4 separate regions of the Homo sapiens genome follow, and all the other regions are linked to region 1. Evidence: promoter capture Hi-C in human tissues and cell types (Jung and others, 2019). All regions are on one chromosome and are shown on one strand. The core of a region is centred on a gene start or on the middle of the fragment in contact, and the rest is flanking DNA. Distances in the headings are between cores, read along the strand shown.

What was found. Contacts are between HindIII fragments. The study calls those that stand out against the background at their distance.
Region 2: a fragment that was not itself captured here is called in contact with the fragment with the promoter of SLC6A12 in region 1 in 3 of the 25 tissues and cell types used here (H1 embryonic stem cells, heart right ventricle and lymphoblastoid cells).
Region 3: a contact is called between a fragment that was not itself captured here and the fragment with the promoter of SLC6A12 in region 1, in 7 of the 25 tissues and cell types used here (IMR-90 fibroblasts, aorta, dorsolateral prefrontal cortex and 4 more).
Region 4: a contact is called between a fragment that was not itself captured here and the fragment with the promoter of SLC6A12 in region 1, in 2 of the 25 tissues and cell types used here (H1 embryonic stem cells and dorsolateral prefrontal cortex).

Annotation. Positions count from the first base shown.
Region 1 is chr12:212,868-215,425 of GRCh38, reverse strand. It overlaps SLC6A12 (solute carrier family 6 member 12), which reads left to right and starts at 1,269. Exons shown (of 16, transcript NM_001122848.3): 1 at 1,269-1,504. RefSeq lists an enhancer at 1,388-2,159. The HindIII fragment of the contact is 37,462 bases long and covers 1-2,558 here.
Region 2 is chr12:107,993-110,550 of GRCh38, reverse strand. The region is part of intron 2 of IQSEC3 (IQ motif and Sec7 domain ArfGEF 3); the gene reads right to left. The region is part of intron 1 of IQSEC3-AS2 (IQSEC3 antisense RNA 2); the gene reads left to right. Among named protein-coding and RNA genes, the nearest start is that of IQSEC3-AS2, 2.5 kb to the left of the region's middle. The HindIII fragment of the contact is 5,213 bases long and covers 1-2,558 here.
Region 3 is chr12:297,038-299,595 of GRCh38, reverse strand. It overlaps KDM5A (lysine demethylase 5A), which reads left to right. Exons shown (of 28, transcript NM_001042603.3): 25 at 2,396-2,555. Among named protein-coding and RNA genes, the nearest start is that of SLC6A13, 35 kb to the right of the region's middle. The HindIII fragment of the contact is 4,145 bases long and covers 1-2,558 here.
Region 4 is chr12:280,427-282,984 of GRCh38, reverse strand. It overlaps KDM5A (lysine demethylase 5A), which reads left to right. Exons shown (of 28, transcript NM_001042603.3): 28 at 1-2,558. Among named protein-coding and RNA genes, the nearest start is that of SLC6A13, 19 kb to the right of the region's middle. The HindIII fragment of the contact is 5,517 bases long and covers 1-2,558 here.

The DNA.
Region 1 (2,558 bases), core at 20-2,519:
GGCCCGAGAGACATATCGTGGGGGTGCTTGATGGAAAACTACAGACTGAGAGTCTCACTTCACACCCCACCCCTGCTGGGAAGTTCTAAAATACACAGAGGAAGCACATGTAAAAGGAAATTTCCCTTTCTCCCTGCAACTTCCTCTCCCTTCATACCACCTAGAGCTGAAGAAGCACCTCCTTTGTCTTGAAGGAGGCACCAGCTATTCTGAATGAAGGGCGGTGGGACAGTGCTGTACCCCACACCAGGTGGGCGTGCTCAGGGACAGTGACCAGGACGCTGTTCTGGAGGAGCTCACTGGGCACACGGCATAGGGCACATGTATTCAAAAAATACCCTTCCCCATTGATAGCTGGCAGGCCACTCCAGACAAATTCTAGCTAGGTGCCTGGTGCTATGCAGTGACCAGAGGTGCCTGGGACCAGACACCCCACCATCCCAGCCTCTGCTTCCAGAGGACACACAACAAACACCCACACCTCCCCTTAAGCACCTATGATATCCCTGCACCCTCACAGCAACCCCGCAAAGTAGATATTGTGTTGTTACCTACCTTTGACAGACTGGGAAACCAAGGCTGACCCTTGCCTAGCTGTCGTGACTGATACATGATAGAGGAGGAGAAGAAACTCAGGTCTGTCTGGTCCCAATCCTGGGTCCTCTCTACATTGCTTCTTGAGGTACGCTCTGGGTGCTTTCTCTAGGAAAATCCCAAGGAGAAGGGTTGTGAAGGTCCAGGGCCTTGCCTAGAAGCCACAGAGGGCAGGTACTTGGTGGAAAACTCCAGCGTGTGATTCACCCTCCTCCCTTGCCCTCGTCAGTGAGGTCACCTCCCCTCCCAAGGTTCTCAGTTTATAGCCTGGAGTCTCTGGTAAGAGAGGGCTGTCCCCTGTGCTGCACATACCCGTCTCCTCATCCCTGGGAAGGAGATGGTTCTGGAGGGGGATAGGGGAAAAGGGGGAAGGGGGAAGGGCAAGGAGGAGGAGGAGGGGAGATGAGGTCAGGGTGTGAGTCTCTGAGCCCCTTCCCCTGCCCAAGGGAGCAGCAGCTCAGCCCAGCTCTGGAGGGGCCATCATGGGACTGTGCCCACGGGGAGGGCACCGGTCTGGAGACAGTGGGTTCACAGTGGGAGTGGGATGGGGGTGGGAGCGCTGGGGACAGAGGACTTGACTTCCTGAGGTTGGATGTTGTAATCTCGGTTCACAAACTTTTGGCCTCAGTCCCTCCTGCTGCTCCTGGTATTTCTCTGTCCTTTCACTCCCCAACACACACAGCCCCCGCCCCAACACATACACACACGGCTTCTTTCTGTCTGGGAGTCCCTGGACAAGTCACATGGGATTCTGCGCTGGGAGGAACAGGGTAAGGCGTGAACGTGGAGGGCAGTTTCCCTTTCAGGTCCCGGCTCTCTTGGCTTTCCCATAAGCAGCTGCCTTGGGACTCTCCTGGAGACCTGATGCCCACAGCCAAGCTGACCACAGGAGCCGGTGCTGGGGACTGAGGTGAGCGGGAAGTGGAGGGGCTGGCTCTGTCTTTGCAGTCTCCAACTGCTGCTCAGAGGGGCTGGAGGGATAGAGCCCTGGGAAGCGAGACTCTGTGGAACTGCGTGTCTGCAGCGGGGGGCAGGACCTGCAATAACCTCAGGCCAAAGGGCAAGTCTGATGCCCACGACTCTCAGGACAAGGGGTGCCCCCTAGCTCCGCCCCATCCAGCGTGGGAGCAGCTCAGTGATTAGCCTGTGGAGCAGGAAAGTCCAGCGATGGGCAGCTGGTCACGGCAGTGGGTGAAAGCAGGGGTGGTCATCTGACGAGGGGAGGGGAAGCAGGTGGTGCCCAGCAAGGTGGAAGGAGAAGTGGACAGGAGAAACCTCGGGGCATTCCCGAGGGCCCAGGAACTGCAATAAATGATCACAGGTGAGGGGTTCCTGCCCGCTGCCTGCCGGCTGAGCGTGACGAGCTGGGTGCCAGGCGCCTCCCAGGAGGAAGCTGTCTTGGCTTTGGGCGGTGGATGCTATGGGTGTGCTTGTACCCGAGGGGGGCACTCAGGGGAGTTGCAGGCAGCCACCAGCTGAGACCGGCACTCACGGGGTGTGAAGGACTACAGAGAGAGCCAGGTTTTGGTGCCATGCACACAGGTATGTGTGTGCGAAGGGACGTGACGGGAAATGGCACCAGTGTGTGTATGGGAATGGGTGTTGGTATGTGGGTGTGGACTGAAGCAGGGGCTGGGTGTCCCATCCCCCCGTGTGCAGGGTCTGAGCTATTCCTATGCTGGACTGGGGAGCAAAGGGGACAGAGCTGGGATCCCAGCAGCACATGGGCAGCAGCATTTCTGGTCTCGTCTGCACCTCTGCTAGCCCCAGCTGGGCCTCTGGCGACATGCCCAGCTCCTGAAAACAGACTTAACTTTGGACTTTCTAGTCTCTTGAAGATTTGCTCTCTGGGCAGCACCAAGCCCGGTGTGGAAATTGGTGTGTTTGCTTCTGGAGGGCACTGAAGTATGATGAGGCCCATCCCCCACCCCTCACCCCCCTGTCCCGGCTTAGCAAAGCAGGTG
Region 2 (2,558 bases), core at 38-2,537, 100 kb after region 1:
TCCCAGAGGGGATAACAATAACCTCAGAGATCAGGCCCCAGTGCAGGACCCAAGGGAACTAATAATTAAAGGGATTAAAAAGTCCACTCTTAGAACACAAAATGTCTTGAAAGCATTCGAGATCCAACAATAAAAAGAGAAGACTCCCTCCGCATTTCTGCAGAGGCTCAGGGATCAAATAAGAAAATATTCAGGATTAGGTCCAGAGCACCCAGTAGGGCAAGGCCTTTTAGGACTTAGTTCTGTGACAAAAGCTGGCCTGATATTACTAAGAAACTGCAAAAGATTGATAGGTGGAATGAAAAACCGATTAAGGAATTACTGAGGGAAGCTCAGAAGGTTTTTGTAAGAAGAAAGAAAAGAGAAACTGGAAAAGGGAGAAAGAGAAAAAGTAAAAAAGAAAATTGGAAAGACAAAGGGGAGGAAATGGCAAACATAGAGGGCCAGAGAGAGAAAGAGTTAAGCTGCTGACCCTGAAGGCAAGGGAGAGGCGGCCACACAACTGTGTGTGGAAGCTGGCTGCTGAAAGCTGTTGATAAAAGTTGTTGCTGAATCTTTGTTGTTTCGACAGAGCTGTCCATCTTTGCAGATTGTCAGGGGCCAGGGCCCAGCACAGTTTAGCTTGTGCCCAGAGAGAGAAAGAGAAAGAAACTAAGTGTGAGGGAAAAAGGAAACAGGATGATAGAGATAGATAGAAAAAGAAAACGAGCGAGAGCAAGAGACTGGAAAAGACAGATCAAAGAGAGACACCAAAGTTAAGACTGGGGAGAAAAATAATGCAAAAGGAAGAAAGAGTACAAGAGGAAGTGAGAGGATGTGGAGAGGTTGGCAGGGCTGGGGGAAGGTTCTAGAGGCTCAAGCAACAAGGAGGTGCTGGGAAAGGGTGCAGTGCGGCCACTGAGGAGGGACAGGGTCCGGGAACTGGGGGATGCAAGTGAGAAGGGGATGTGGAGGAGAGTTTAGGATCAGGCTGCCTGAGGAATAGTGGGTTGCGTACGGCAAAGACTAGATGGCTGTTTGTCAGGAGGGTGTAGAAAGGGTTCAGGATGTGGAAGGGTGAGTGGATGAGATGAGCATTAAGGTTTGCTGCTGTTTCACTGAGAGGCTGTGAGTCCACCAGGGGCAGCCGTCAGTAAGGCTGCAGAGAGGCCGGGGGGCTACATAAGGAAGATCCGAACTAGGGTTATAAACTCAAAGGACAACACGGCCAGCAAATGGTGAGAAGGAGGGCTGCAGGGCTGGATGGGGACTGTGGCTAACTGAAGAGGGCACACCTCTGCAGCTGCTCGACTGTTCTCACAGTGCCAGCCCTGTGTTGCCAGACTGTCTGCTTTGTCAGAGGCCAGAATTCTGACTTTTTATGTGAAACAGGATTTTTAAATGCTGGTGATCAGTTAAAAAAACTTAATAACCCAATACAGGTGATAGAAAATGCCAGTTTGCAATCCCTGAAGTAGAGAGAGCGCGTGCTGGGGAGAAGTCCGCCAGGATGCTTTGAGGTGGGGTGTATAAAAGTTCTGTTTCCCAGAGCTGGGCTGGGCCAAGGGGCGACCCTTGCAGCTGACGAAAAGCCACCAAGTCCCCTCCCAGAGCGGGACAAACCTGGGACCCTTTGCAGTTGCTGGGTCACCAGCAGGGGTGGCGTGGAATACAAACAGTGCAGCTCTCGGCCTGCCAGGGAGACGGATGGTGCCTTCAAAGCAAAGAAGGAGCCAGGGATGCCTTTGCTGATGAGAGTGCCCATCAGGGAAGGCACCACAGGCTGGCAGCTCTTCAAACCAGCAGCTGTTGGCCCAGAGCCAGACCCGGCAGAGCCCGGCTAAAGACACCCTGAAAGGCCAGCTGGTCAGCCCCTTGCCTCCTCAAGTTCCTCCTGGGGTCAGTGGGCCCTGGAAAGGCGCCTAAATGAACTCCAGTCAGTTTCTTACGGAAATGAGAGGAGAATAAGCAGGTATCAGACCATAACTGTTTACATATGATAGAATATCAAACCAAAGTTAGACCAGACCTTAAAGAAATTCCACTACTCGATGGAATGAGGCTGTTTGTGAATAGGCCATCCTGAGTGATAGATGGTAAAAGACACAATGTCCAGGCTGTCATTGATGGAAACAAACAAACCTTATGAGAAAAAGGTAGATTACCCAATAACTGCTCAGCCCAAACCTGTGAATTACATGCTCTTAACCAAGCCCTGAAGCTCATATAAGGCCAAGAAGGCACTGTATATGCTATTTCCAGATATGCCTATGGAGTAGTACACACCTTTGGAAAGATCTGGACAAAGTGGAGCCTAATAAATAGCAGGTAGAAAGAATTGGTATATGGGAAACTGGTCAAACAAGTTTTAAAAAGCCTCCTGCTTCCAGCAGAGGTAGCCATAGTTCATGTAAACGGCCATCAGAAAGGAAACTCTATAGAAGCTAGGGTTAGGGTTAGGGTTAGGGTTAGGGTTAGGGAACAGGCTTGTGGATAAAGCTGCTAAGCAGCCTCCCTGGAGGTAGAAGTTAAACTATTTGGCCTAATCCCAGATATCCCTAAGGTGGTATTAAAACCCC
Region 3 (2,558 bases), core at 35-2,534, 84 kb before region 1:
ATGTTTTTTCCAGTGACTGGTACCGATTGTTCCTTTCCATGTTTAGTGCTTTCTTCAGGAGCTCTTGTAAGGCAGGTCTGGTGGTGAGAAAATCTCTCAGCACTTGCTTGTCTGGAAAGGGTTTTATTTCTCCTTCACTTACGAAGCTTAGTTTGGCTGGATATGAAATTCTGAGTTGAAAATTCTTTTCTTTAAGAATGTTGAATATTGGCCCCCACTCTCTTTTGGCTTGTAGAGTTTCTGCGAGAGATCCGCTGTTAGTCTGATGGGCTTCCCTTTGTGGGTAACTTGACCTTTCTCTCTGGCTGCCCTTAACACTTTTTCCTTCATTTCAACATTGGTGAATCTGACAGTTATGTGTCTTGGGTTTGCTCTTCTCAAGGAGTATCTTTGTGGTGTTCTCTGTATTTCCTGAATTTGAATGTTGGCCTGCCTTGCTAGGTTGGGGAAGTTCTCCTGGATAATATCCTGAAGAGTGTTTTTCAAGTTGGTTCCATTCTTCCATCACACAGGTACACCAATCAAATGTAGATTTGGTCTTTTCACGTAGTCCCATATGCATTGGAGGCTTTTTTCGTTTCTTTTCACTCTTTTTCCTCTAATCTTGTCCTCTCACTTTATTTTATTGAATTGATCTTCAATCTCTGATATCCTTTCTTCTGCTTGATTGATTCGGCTATTGATACTTGTGTATGCTTCACGAAGTTCTCGTGCTGTGTTTTTCAGCTCCATCAGTTCATTTATGTTCTTTTCTAAACTGGTTATTCTAGTTAGCAATTCCTCTAACCTTTCCTGAAGGTTCTTAGCTTCCTTGTATTGGGTTAGAACATGGTCCTTTAGCTCAGAGGAGTTTGTTATTACCCACCTTCTGAAGCCTACTTCTGTCAATTCATCAAACTCATTCACCATCCAGTTTTGTTCCTTTGCTGGCGAGGAGATTTGATCCTCTGGAGGAGAAGAGGCATTCTGGTTTTTGGAATGTTCAGCCTTTTTGTACTGGTTTCTCCCCATCTTCGTGGATTTATCTACCTTTGGTCTTTGATGTTGGTGACCTTTGGGTGGAGTCTCTGAGTGGACGTCCTTTTTGTTGATGTTGACACTACTCCTTTCTGTTTGTTAGTTTTCCTTCAAACAGTCAGGCCCCTCTGCTGCAGGTGTGCTGGAGTTTGGTGGAGGTCCACTCCAGACTCTTGTTTGCCTGGGTATCGCCAGCAGAGGCTGCAGAACAGCAAAGATTGCTGCTTGTTCCTTCCTCTGGAAGCTTCATCCCAGAGGGGCACTGGCCAGATGCCAGCCAGAGTTCTCTTGTATGATGTGTCTGTTGACCCCTGCTGGGAGGTGTCTCCCCGTCAGGATGCACGGGGGCCAGGGACCCACTTGAGGAGGCATTCTGTTGCTTATCAGAGCTCGAATGCTGTGCTGGGAGATCCGCTGCTCTCTTCAGAGCCGTCAGGCAGGGACATTTAAGTCTGCTGAAGCTGCGCCCACAGCCGCCCCTTCCCCCAGGTGCTCTGTCCCAGGGAGCTGGGGGTTTTATCTATAAGTCCCTGACTGGGGCTGCTGCCTTTTTTTCAGAGATGCCCTGCCCAGAGAGGAGGAATCTAGAGAGCAATAGTAATTTTTTTGTAGGTTTATTATCTCCGTGGATTGTTTTTGACCTTAACACTCTCTTTTGTCTTGAATCTGTAGTCATTATATTCCTGGACAGAACGAGGTCTGGCTGCTTTTTCTCTCAGTCCAATAAGGAGATGCAGACTGACTGGGAAAGAAGGGAGTTAATTTCTGCAGCTGGTTATGGAGTAACTCACCAGACCAACTAAAAGTTACAAGTTTTTTTCAACGCTTGTATTCATTCTAAATTCTATGTCTGTGTGTAGGAGGTGCACCTACAAGCCAGAATGTTTCATTCAAACTGTATCTAATCTTCAGGTAGGGTCCAGGGTCTGGAAAGCTTTCTCTAGAGACTTGGAAAAATTTCCTTATCTTAAGTGGGCCCTGGTACAAGGTGTGTGTAAGAATGCCTTCATAACTTTATCAGGCTTTAGGGTCTTAGAAAACCCGGGTGAAAATCTTAATGGGTTTGTTTTCACATTTCAGCCCTTGTACGAAGGCAGTAGTTTCTCCAGTTATTTACTGTTTAACTTACACATTCATCAGAATTATAGTAATGTGTTAGTAGAAACTGTTCTGGTTGCTCATGGAGACCTGGCCTGCCACAATTACAGTTTTTCTCCCCAATGGACATTTTCTATCTTATTTAACATCAGATATTTAATTTTAATCTCATATTTTTAGTATATTAGAAGCTTTAACCTGAAAGCCTCCATTTTGGGCCTTGTCATAAAATAAGTTAAATGACTCTAATTCTGAATACTTCTCTTTGTTTCTTCTTCAGGACACAGCCAGTGTGAAGTCCTCTAGTAGTCTTGAACCCAATCTTTTTTGTGATGAAGAGATTCCCATCAAATCCGAGGAGGTGGTGACCCACATGTGGACAGCACCTTCATTTTGTGCAGAGCATGCTTATTCTTCTGCTTCTAAGAGTTGTTCTCAAGGTA
Region 4 (2,558 bases), core at 39-2,538, 68 kb before region 1:
TGGAGGATTTGGTATGACTTGACCACAGGTTTAGACCAAGGCTGAGAAGAACAGAAGGGAGAAATTAATGGCAAAACAAAAAATACACAAATCTGCGGTTTTGGAATTAATGAAACAAGATTCATCTATTTAAAGAAATGTTGGTGTTCTAATACAAAGCATTATTTTCACTTAGAGAAAATTACTTACTTGCTCCCTTCTGTATTGTAATATTTTGTATTAAGACATGATTTAAAATGTCTTTCTACCCTTATCTCCTCTAAACTGCAACTGAAGTTGCAATTCTTCATCATTAGTATTTTAACTCTGGCAAAGGTTATAGAAAGAAAAATGGAAATATGGTAGGCCTGTGGTATTCTTAAAAGCTAAGTCATTAGAACTATGCAGATCCCCAAGTTTAAAAGTACAAATACAGCACCAGTAGTTAGCTTTCTAGCTGGGGGAGAAGACAGGAGATTTTTCTTCCACAGATGTTTATTTTGCTTCCTGATAGGTACTGCAGCAAAGCCATGTTGATGTGTAGATGCATGACTTCCTCACTAAGCTGCTGCACACCAGCTTTGCCTGCATGATTCAAATTTGTGCCTCAGTAAAATTATAAATTATTGCATGTCATACCTTGAATAATGGAAACGGCAAACATTAAACCTGTGATTACCCATAATGTACTTTAATAATAAAAAACATGGCAGCCAGGTGCAGTAGAGTGCACCTGTGGTCAGGAGGCTGAAGTGGGAAGATTGCTTCAACCTGTGAGTTTGAGTCCCGCCTGGTCAACAGCGAGACCCCATGTGTCTGTCTGTCTCTCTCTTTTTTTAAAGGACAGAGGCTAAGCTGTAAGGTTAGCATGGTTCTGCCTGGGCTTTGCTTCTGTGCTTCTGTGCAGGCTGAGCTGTAAGGTTAGCATGGTTCTGCCTGGGCTTTGCTTCTGCGCTTCTGTGCAGGCTGAGCTGTAAGGTTAGCATGGTTCTGCCTGGGCTTTGCTTCTGCGCTTCTGTGCAGGCTGAGCTGTAAGGTTAGCATGGTTCTGCCTGGGCTTTGCTTCTGCGCTTCTGTGCTAGCAGGTGCCCACAAAATGTCTTTTTGAATTTCTTAATTTTTGGGTTCTGGATGCAATTCGTGCACGCCAAGAAACTACTTGCTTGTCAGTATTTTAATTCTGTAGTACATGTGTGTGAATATCAGCCAGTACTTACAGTAGGAGGATGAACAGAAAAACTGAGAAGACCTGTCTTTCAAAAGATGGGTTTATCCACTTTTTAAGGGAAAAAGTGACAGTTTGGCATGGGATTTGAAAAGTGGAAATTGTGGAAAAATTGAGCTGTTGAAGTCCCACATATAACCAGATTTAATAAAGCTTCACATGTGAATTAGCTCCATATGTGTGTAGAAGGTTGCTTTTATAGCAGGTCCTTAAGTACTCCTTTTGAAATTCCTCCTTTTTTTTTAAGTCATACCATTACTTCTTTGGATATGAATGTCCCAAGTGGTATCTCCTACTGTAGTATGAGGAAGAATGGCTGTTAATGTATTTTTTGAATTTTGGTCTTGTCTTGGCCTGGATCATATCCAGTCACCACTATGCAACAAATGATGTGCACTGGGCAAGGATATGATGGGTTATGAAAGCTGTATCTTGTTTGTTTTTTCTTTTGCAGTACTCCAAGTGGTCTAAACAGGAATGTCTTGTAAAACCTCAAGACTCCCTATTGATTATTCCCTTACATATTTATTTACAATTTATCAGGGTAATTGGTGGTGCCTTATGAAAAGTATAACTCGATTTCTTGATCTTTGAGCATGTTTTGTGTTTCTTGTGTTTTCTAAAAGAATATTAGATATGGTTAATTGCATTACATCTAAAAGATTTAAAAAATTGTGTGTATGCTCAGGTTCCCCACACCCATACCCACCCTAACCCCTGTCATTTACATTGGTGGCAACTTTAAATGGTAACCAAGCAAAAGTACATTTTGATAATGAGTATTGATAATCCTGAGGAAAACTAGTGAGTATATGGGAGCCACCTTTGACCTGTGCCAAAGCAGTTTCTAATTTCATTTGCTAACTATAAAATAAAGAACTGAGCCAAAATAATTTGATCAGTGGTGTGATTAGCCTATTATCATTGCTGAGAATAGTGTTTTTGGAGTGTGAAGTGATTCCTGAAGATTTCACCTGCCTTCTGTTTCCAGCAAGAATCCAGTGATGACCAACACATTTCCTCACTTTTGGTTCTTGAGAAGTTTATCCCTTTGCAACAAACCATTAATAGGGAAAACAAGGAAATGCTTTCCCTTTCTCTTTGGCTTCTTAAAGCTCACAACCAATTCAGACCCCAAGTTACTTCAGAGAAGCAAATGGCACCTTTTCCCCATTGCCAAGGATCCCAGCTTATGCAGATATGAAGGACGGATCATTTCTGAAAATGTTAAGACTCTGCTTGCAGTGGACTTGGCCTCAGTTTCATGAAATGTGTAACTCTGTATGTGTATGTTAGGAGGAGGGTTGGTTGAAAGAGCGGGGGCAGGGAGGGGAATCTGATTACCTCTTGGGAA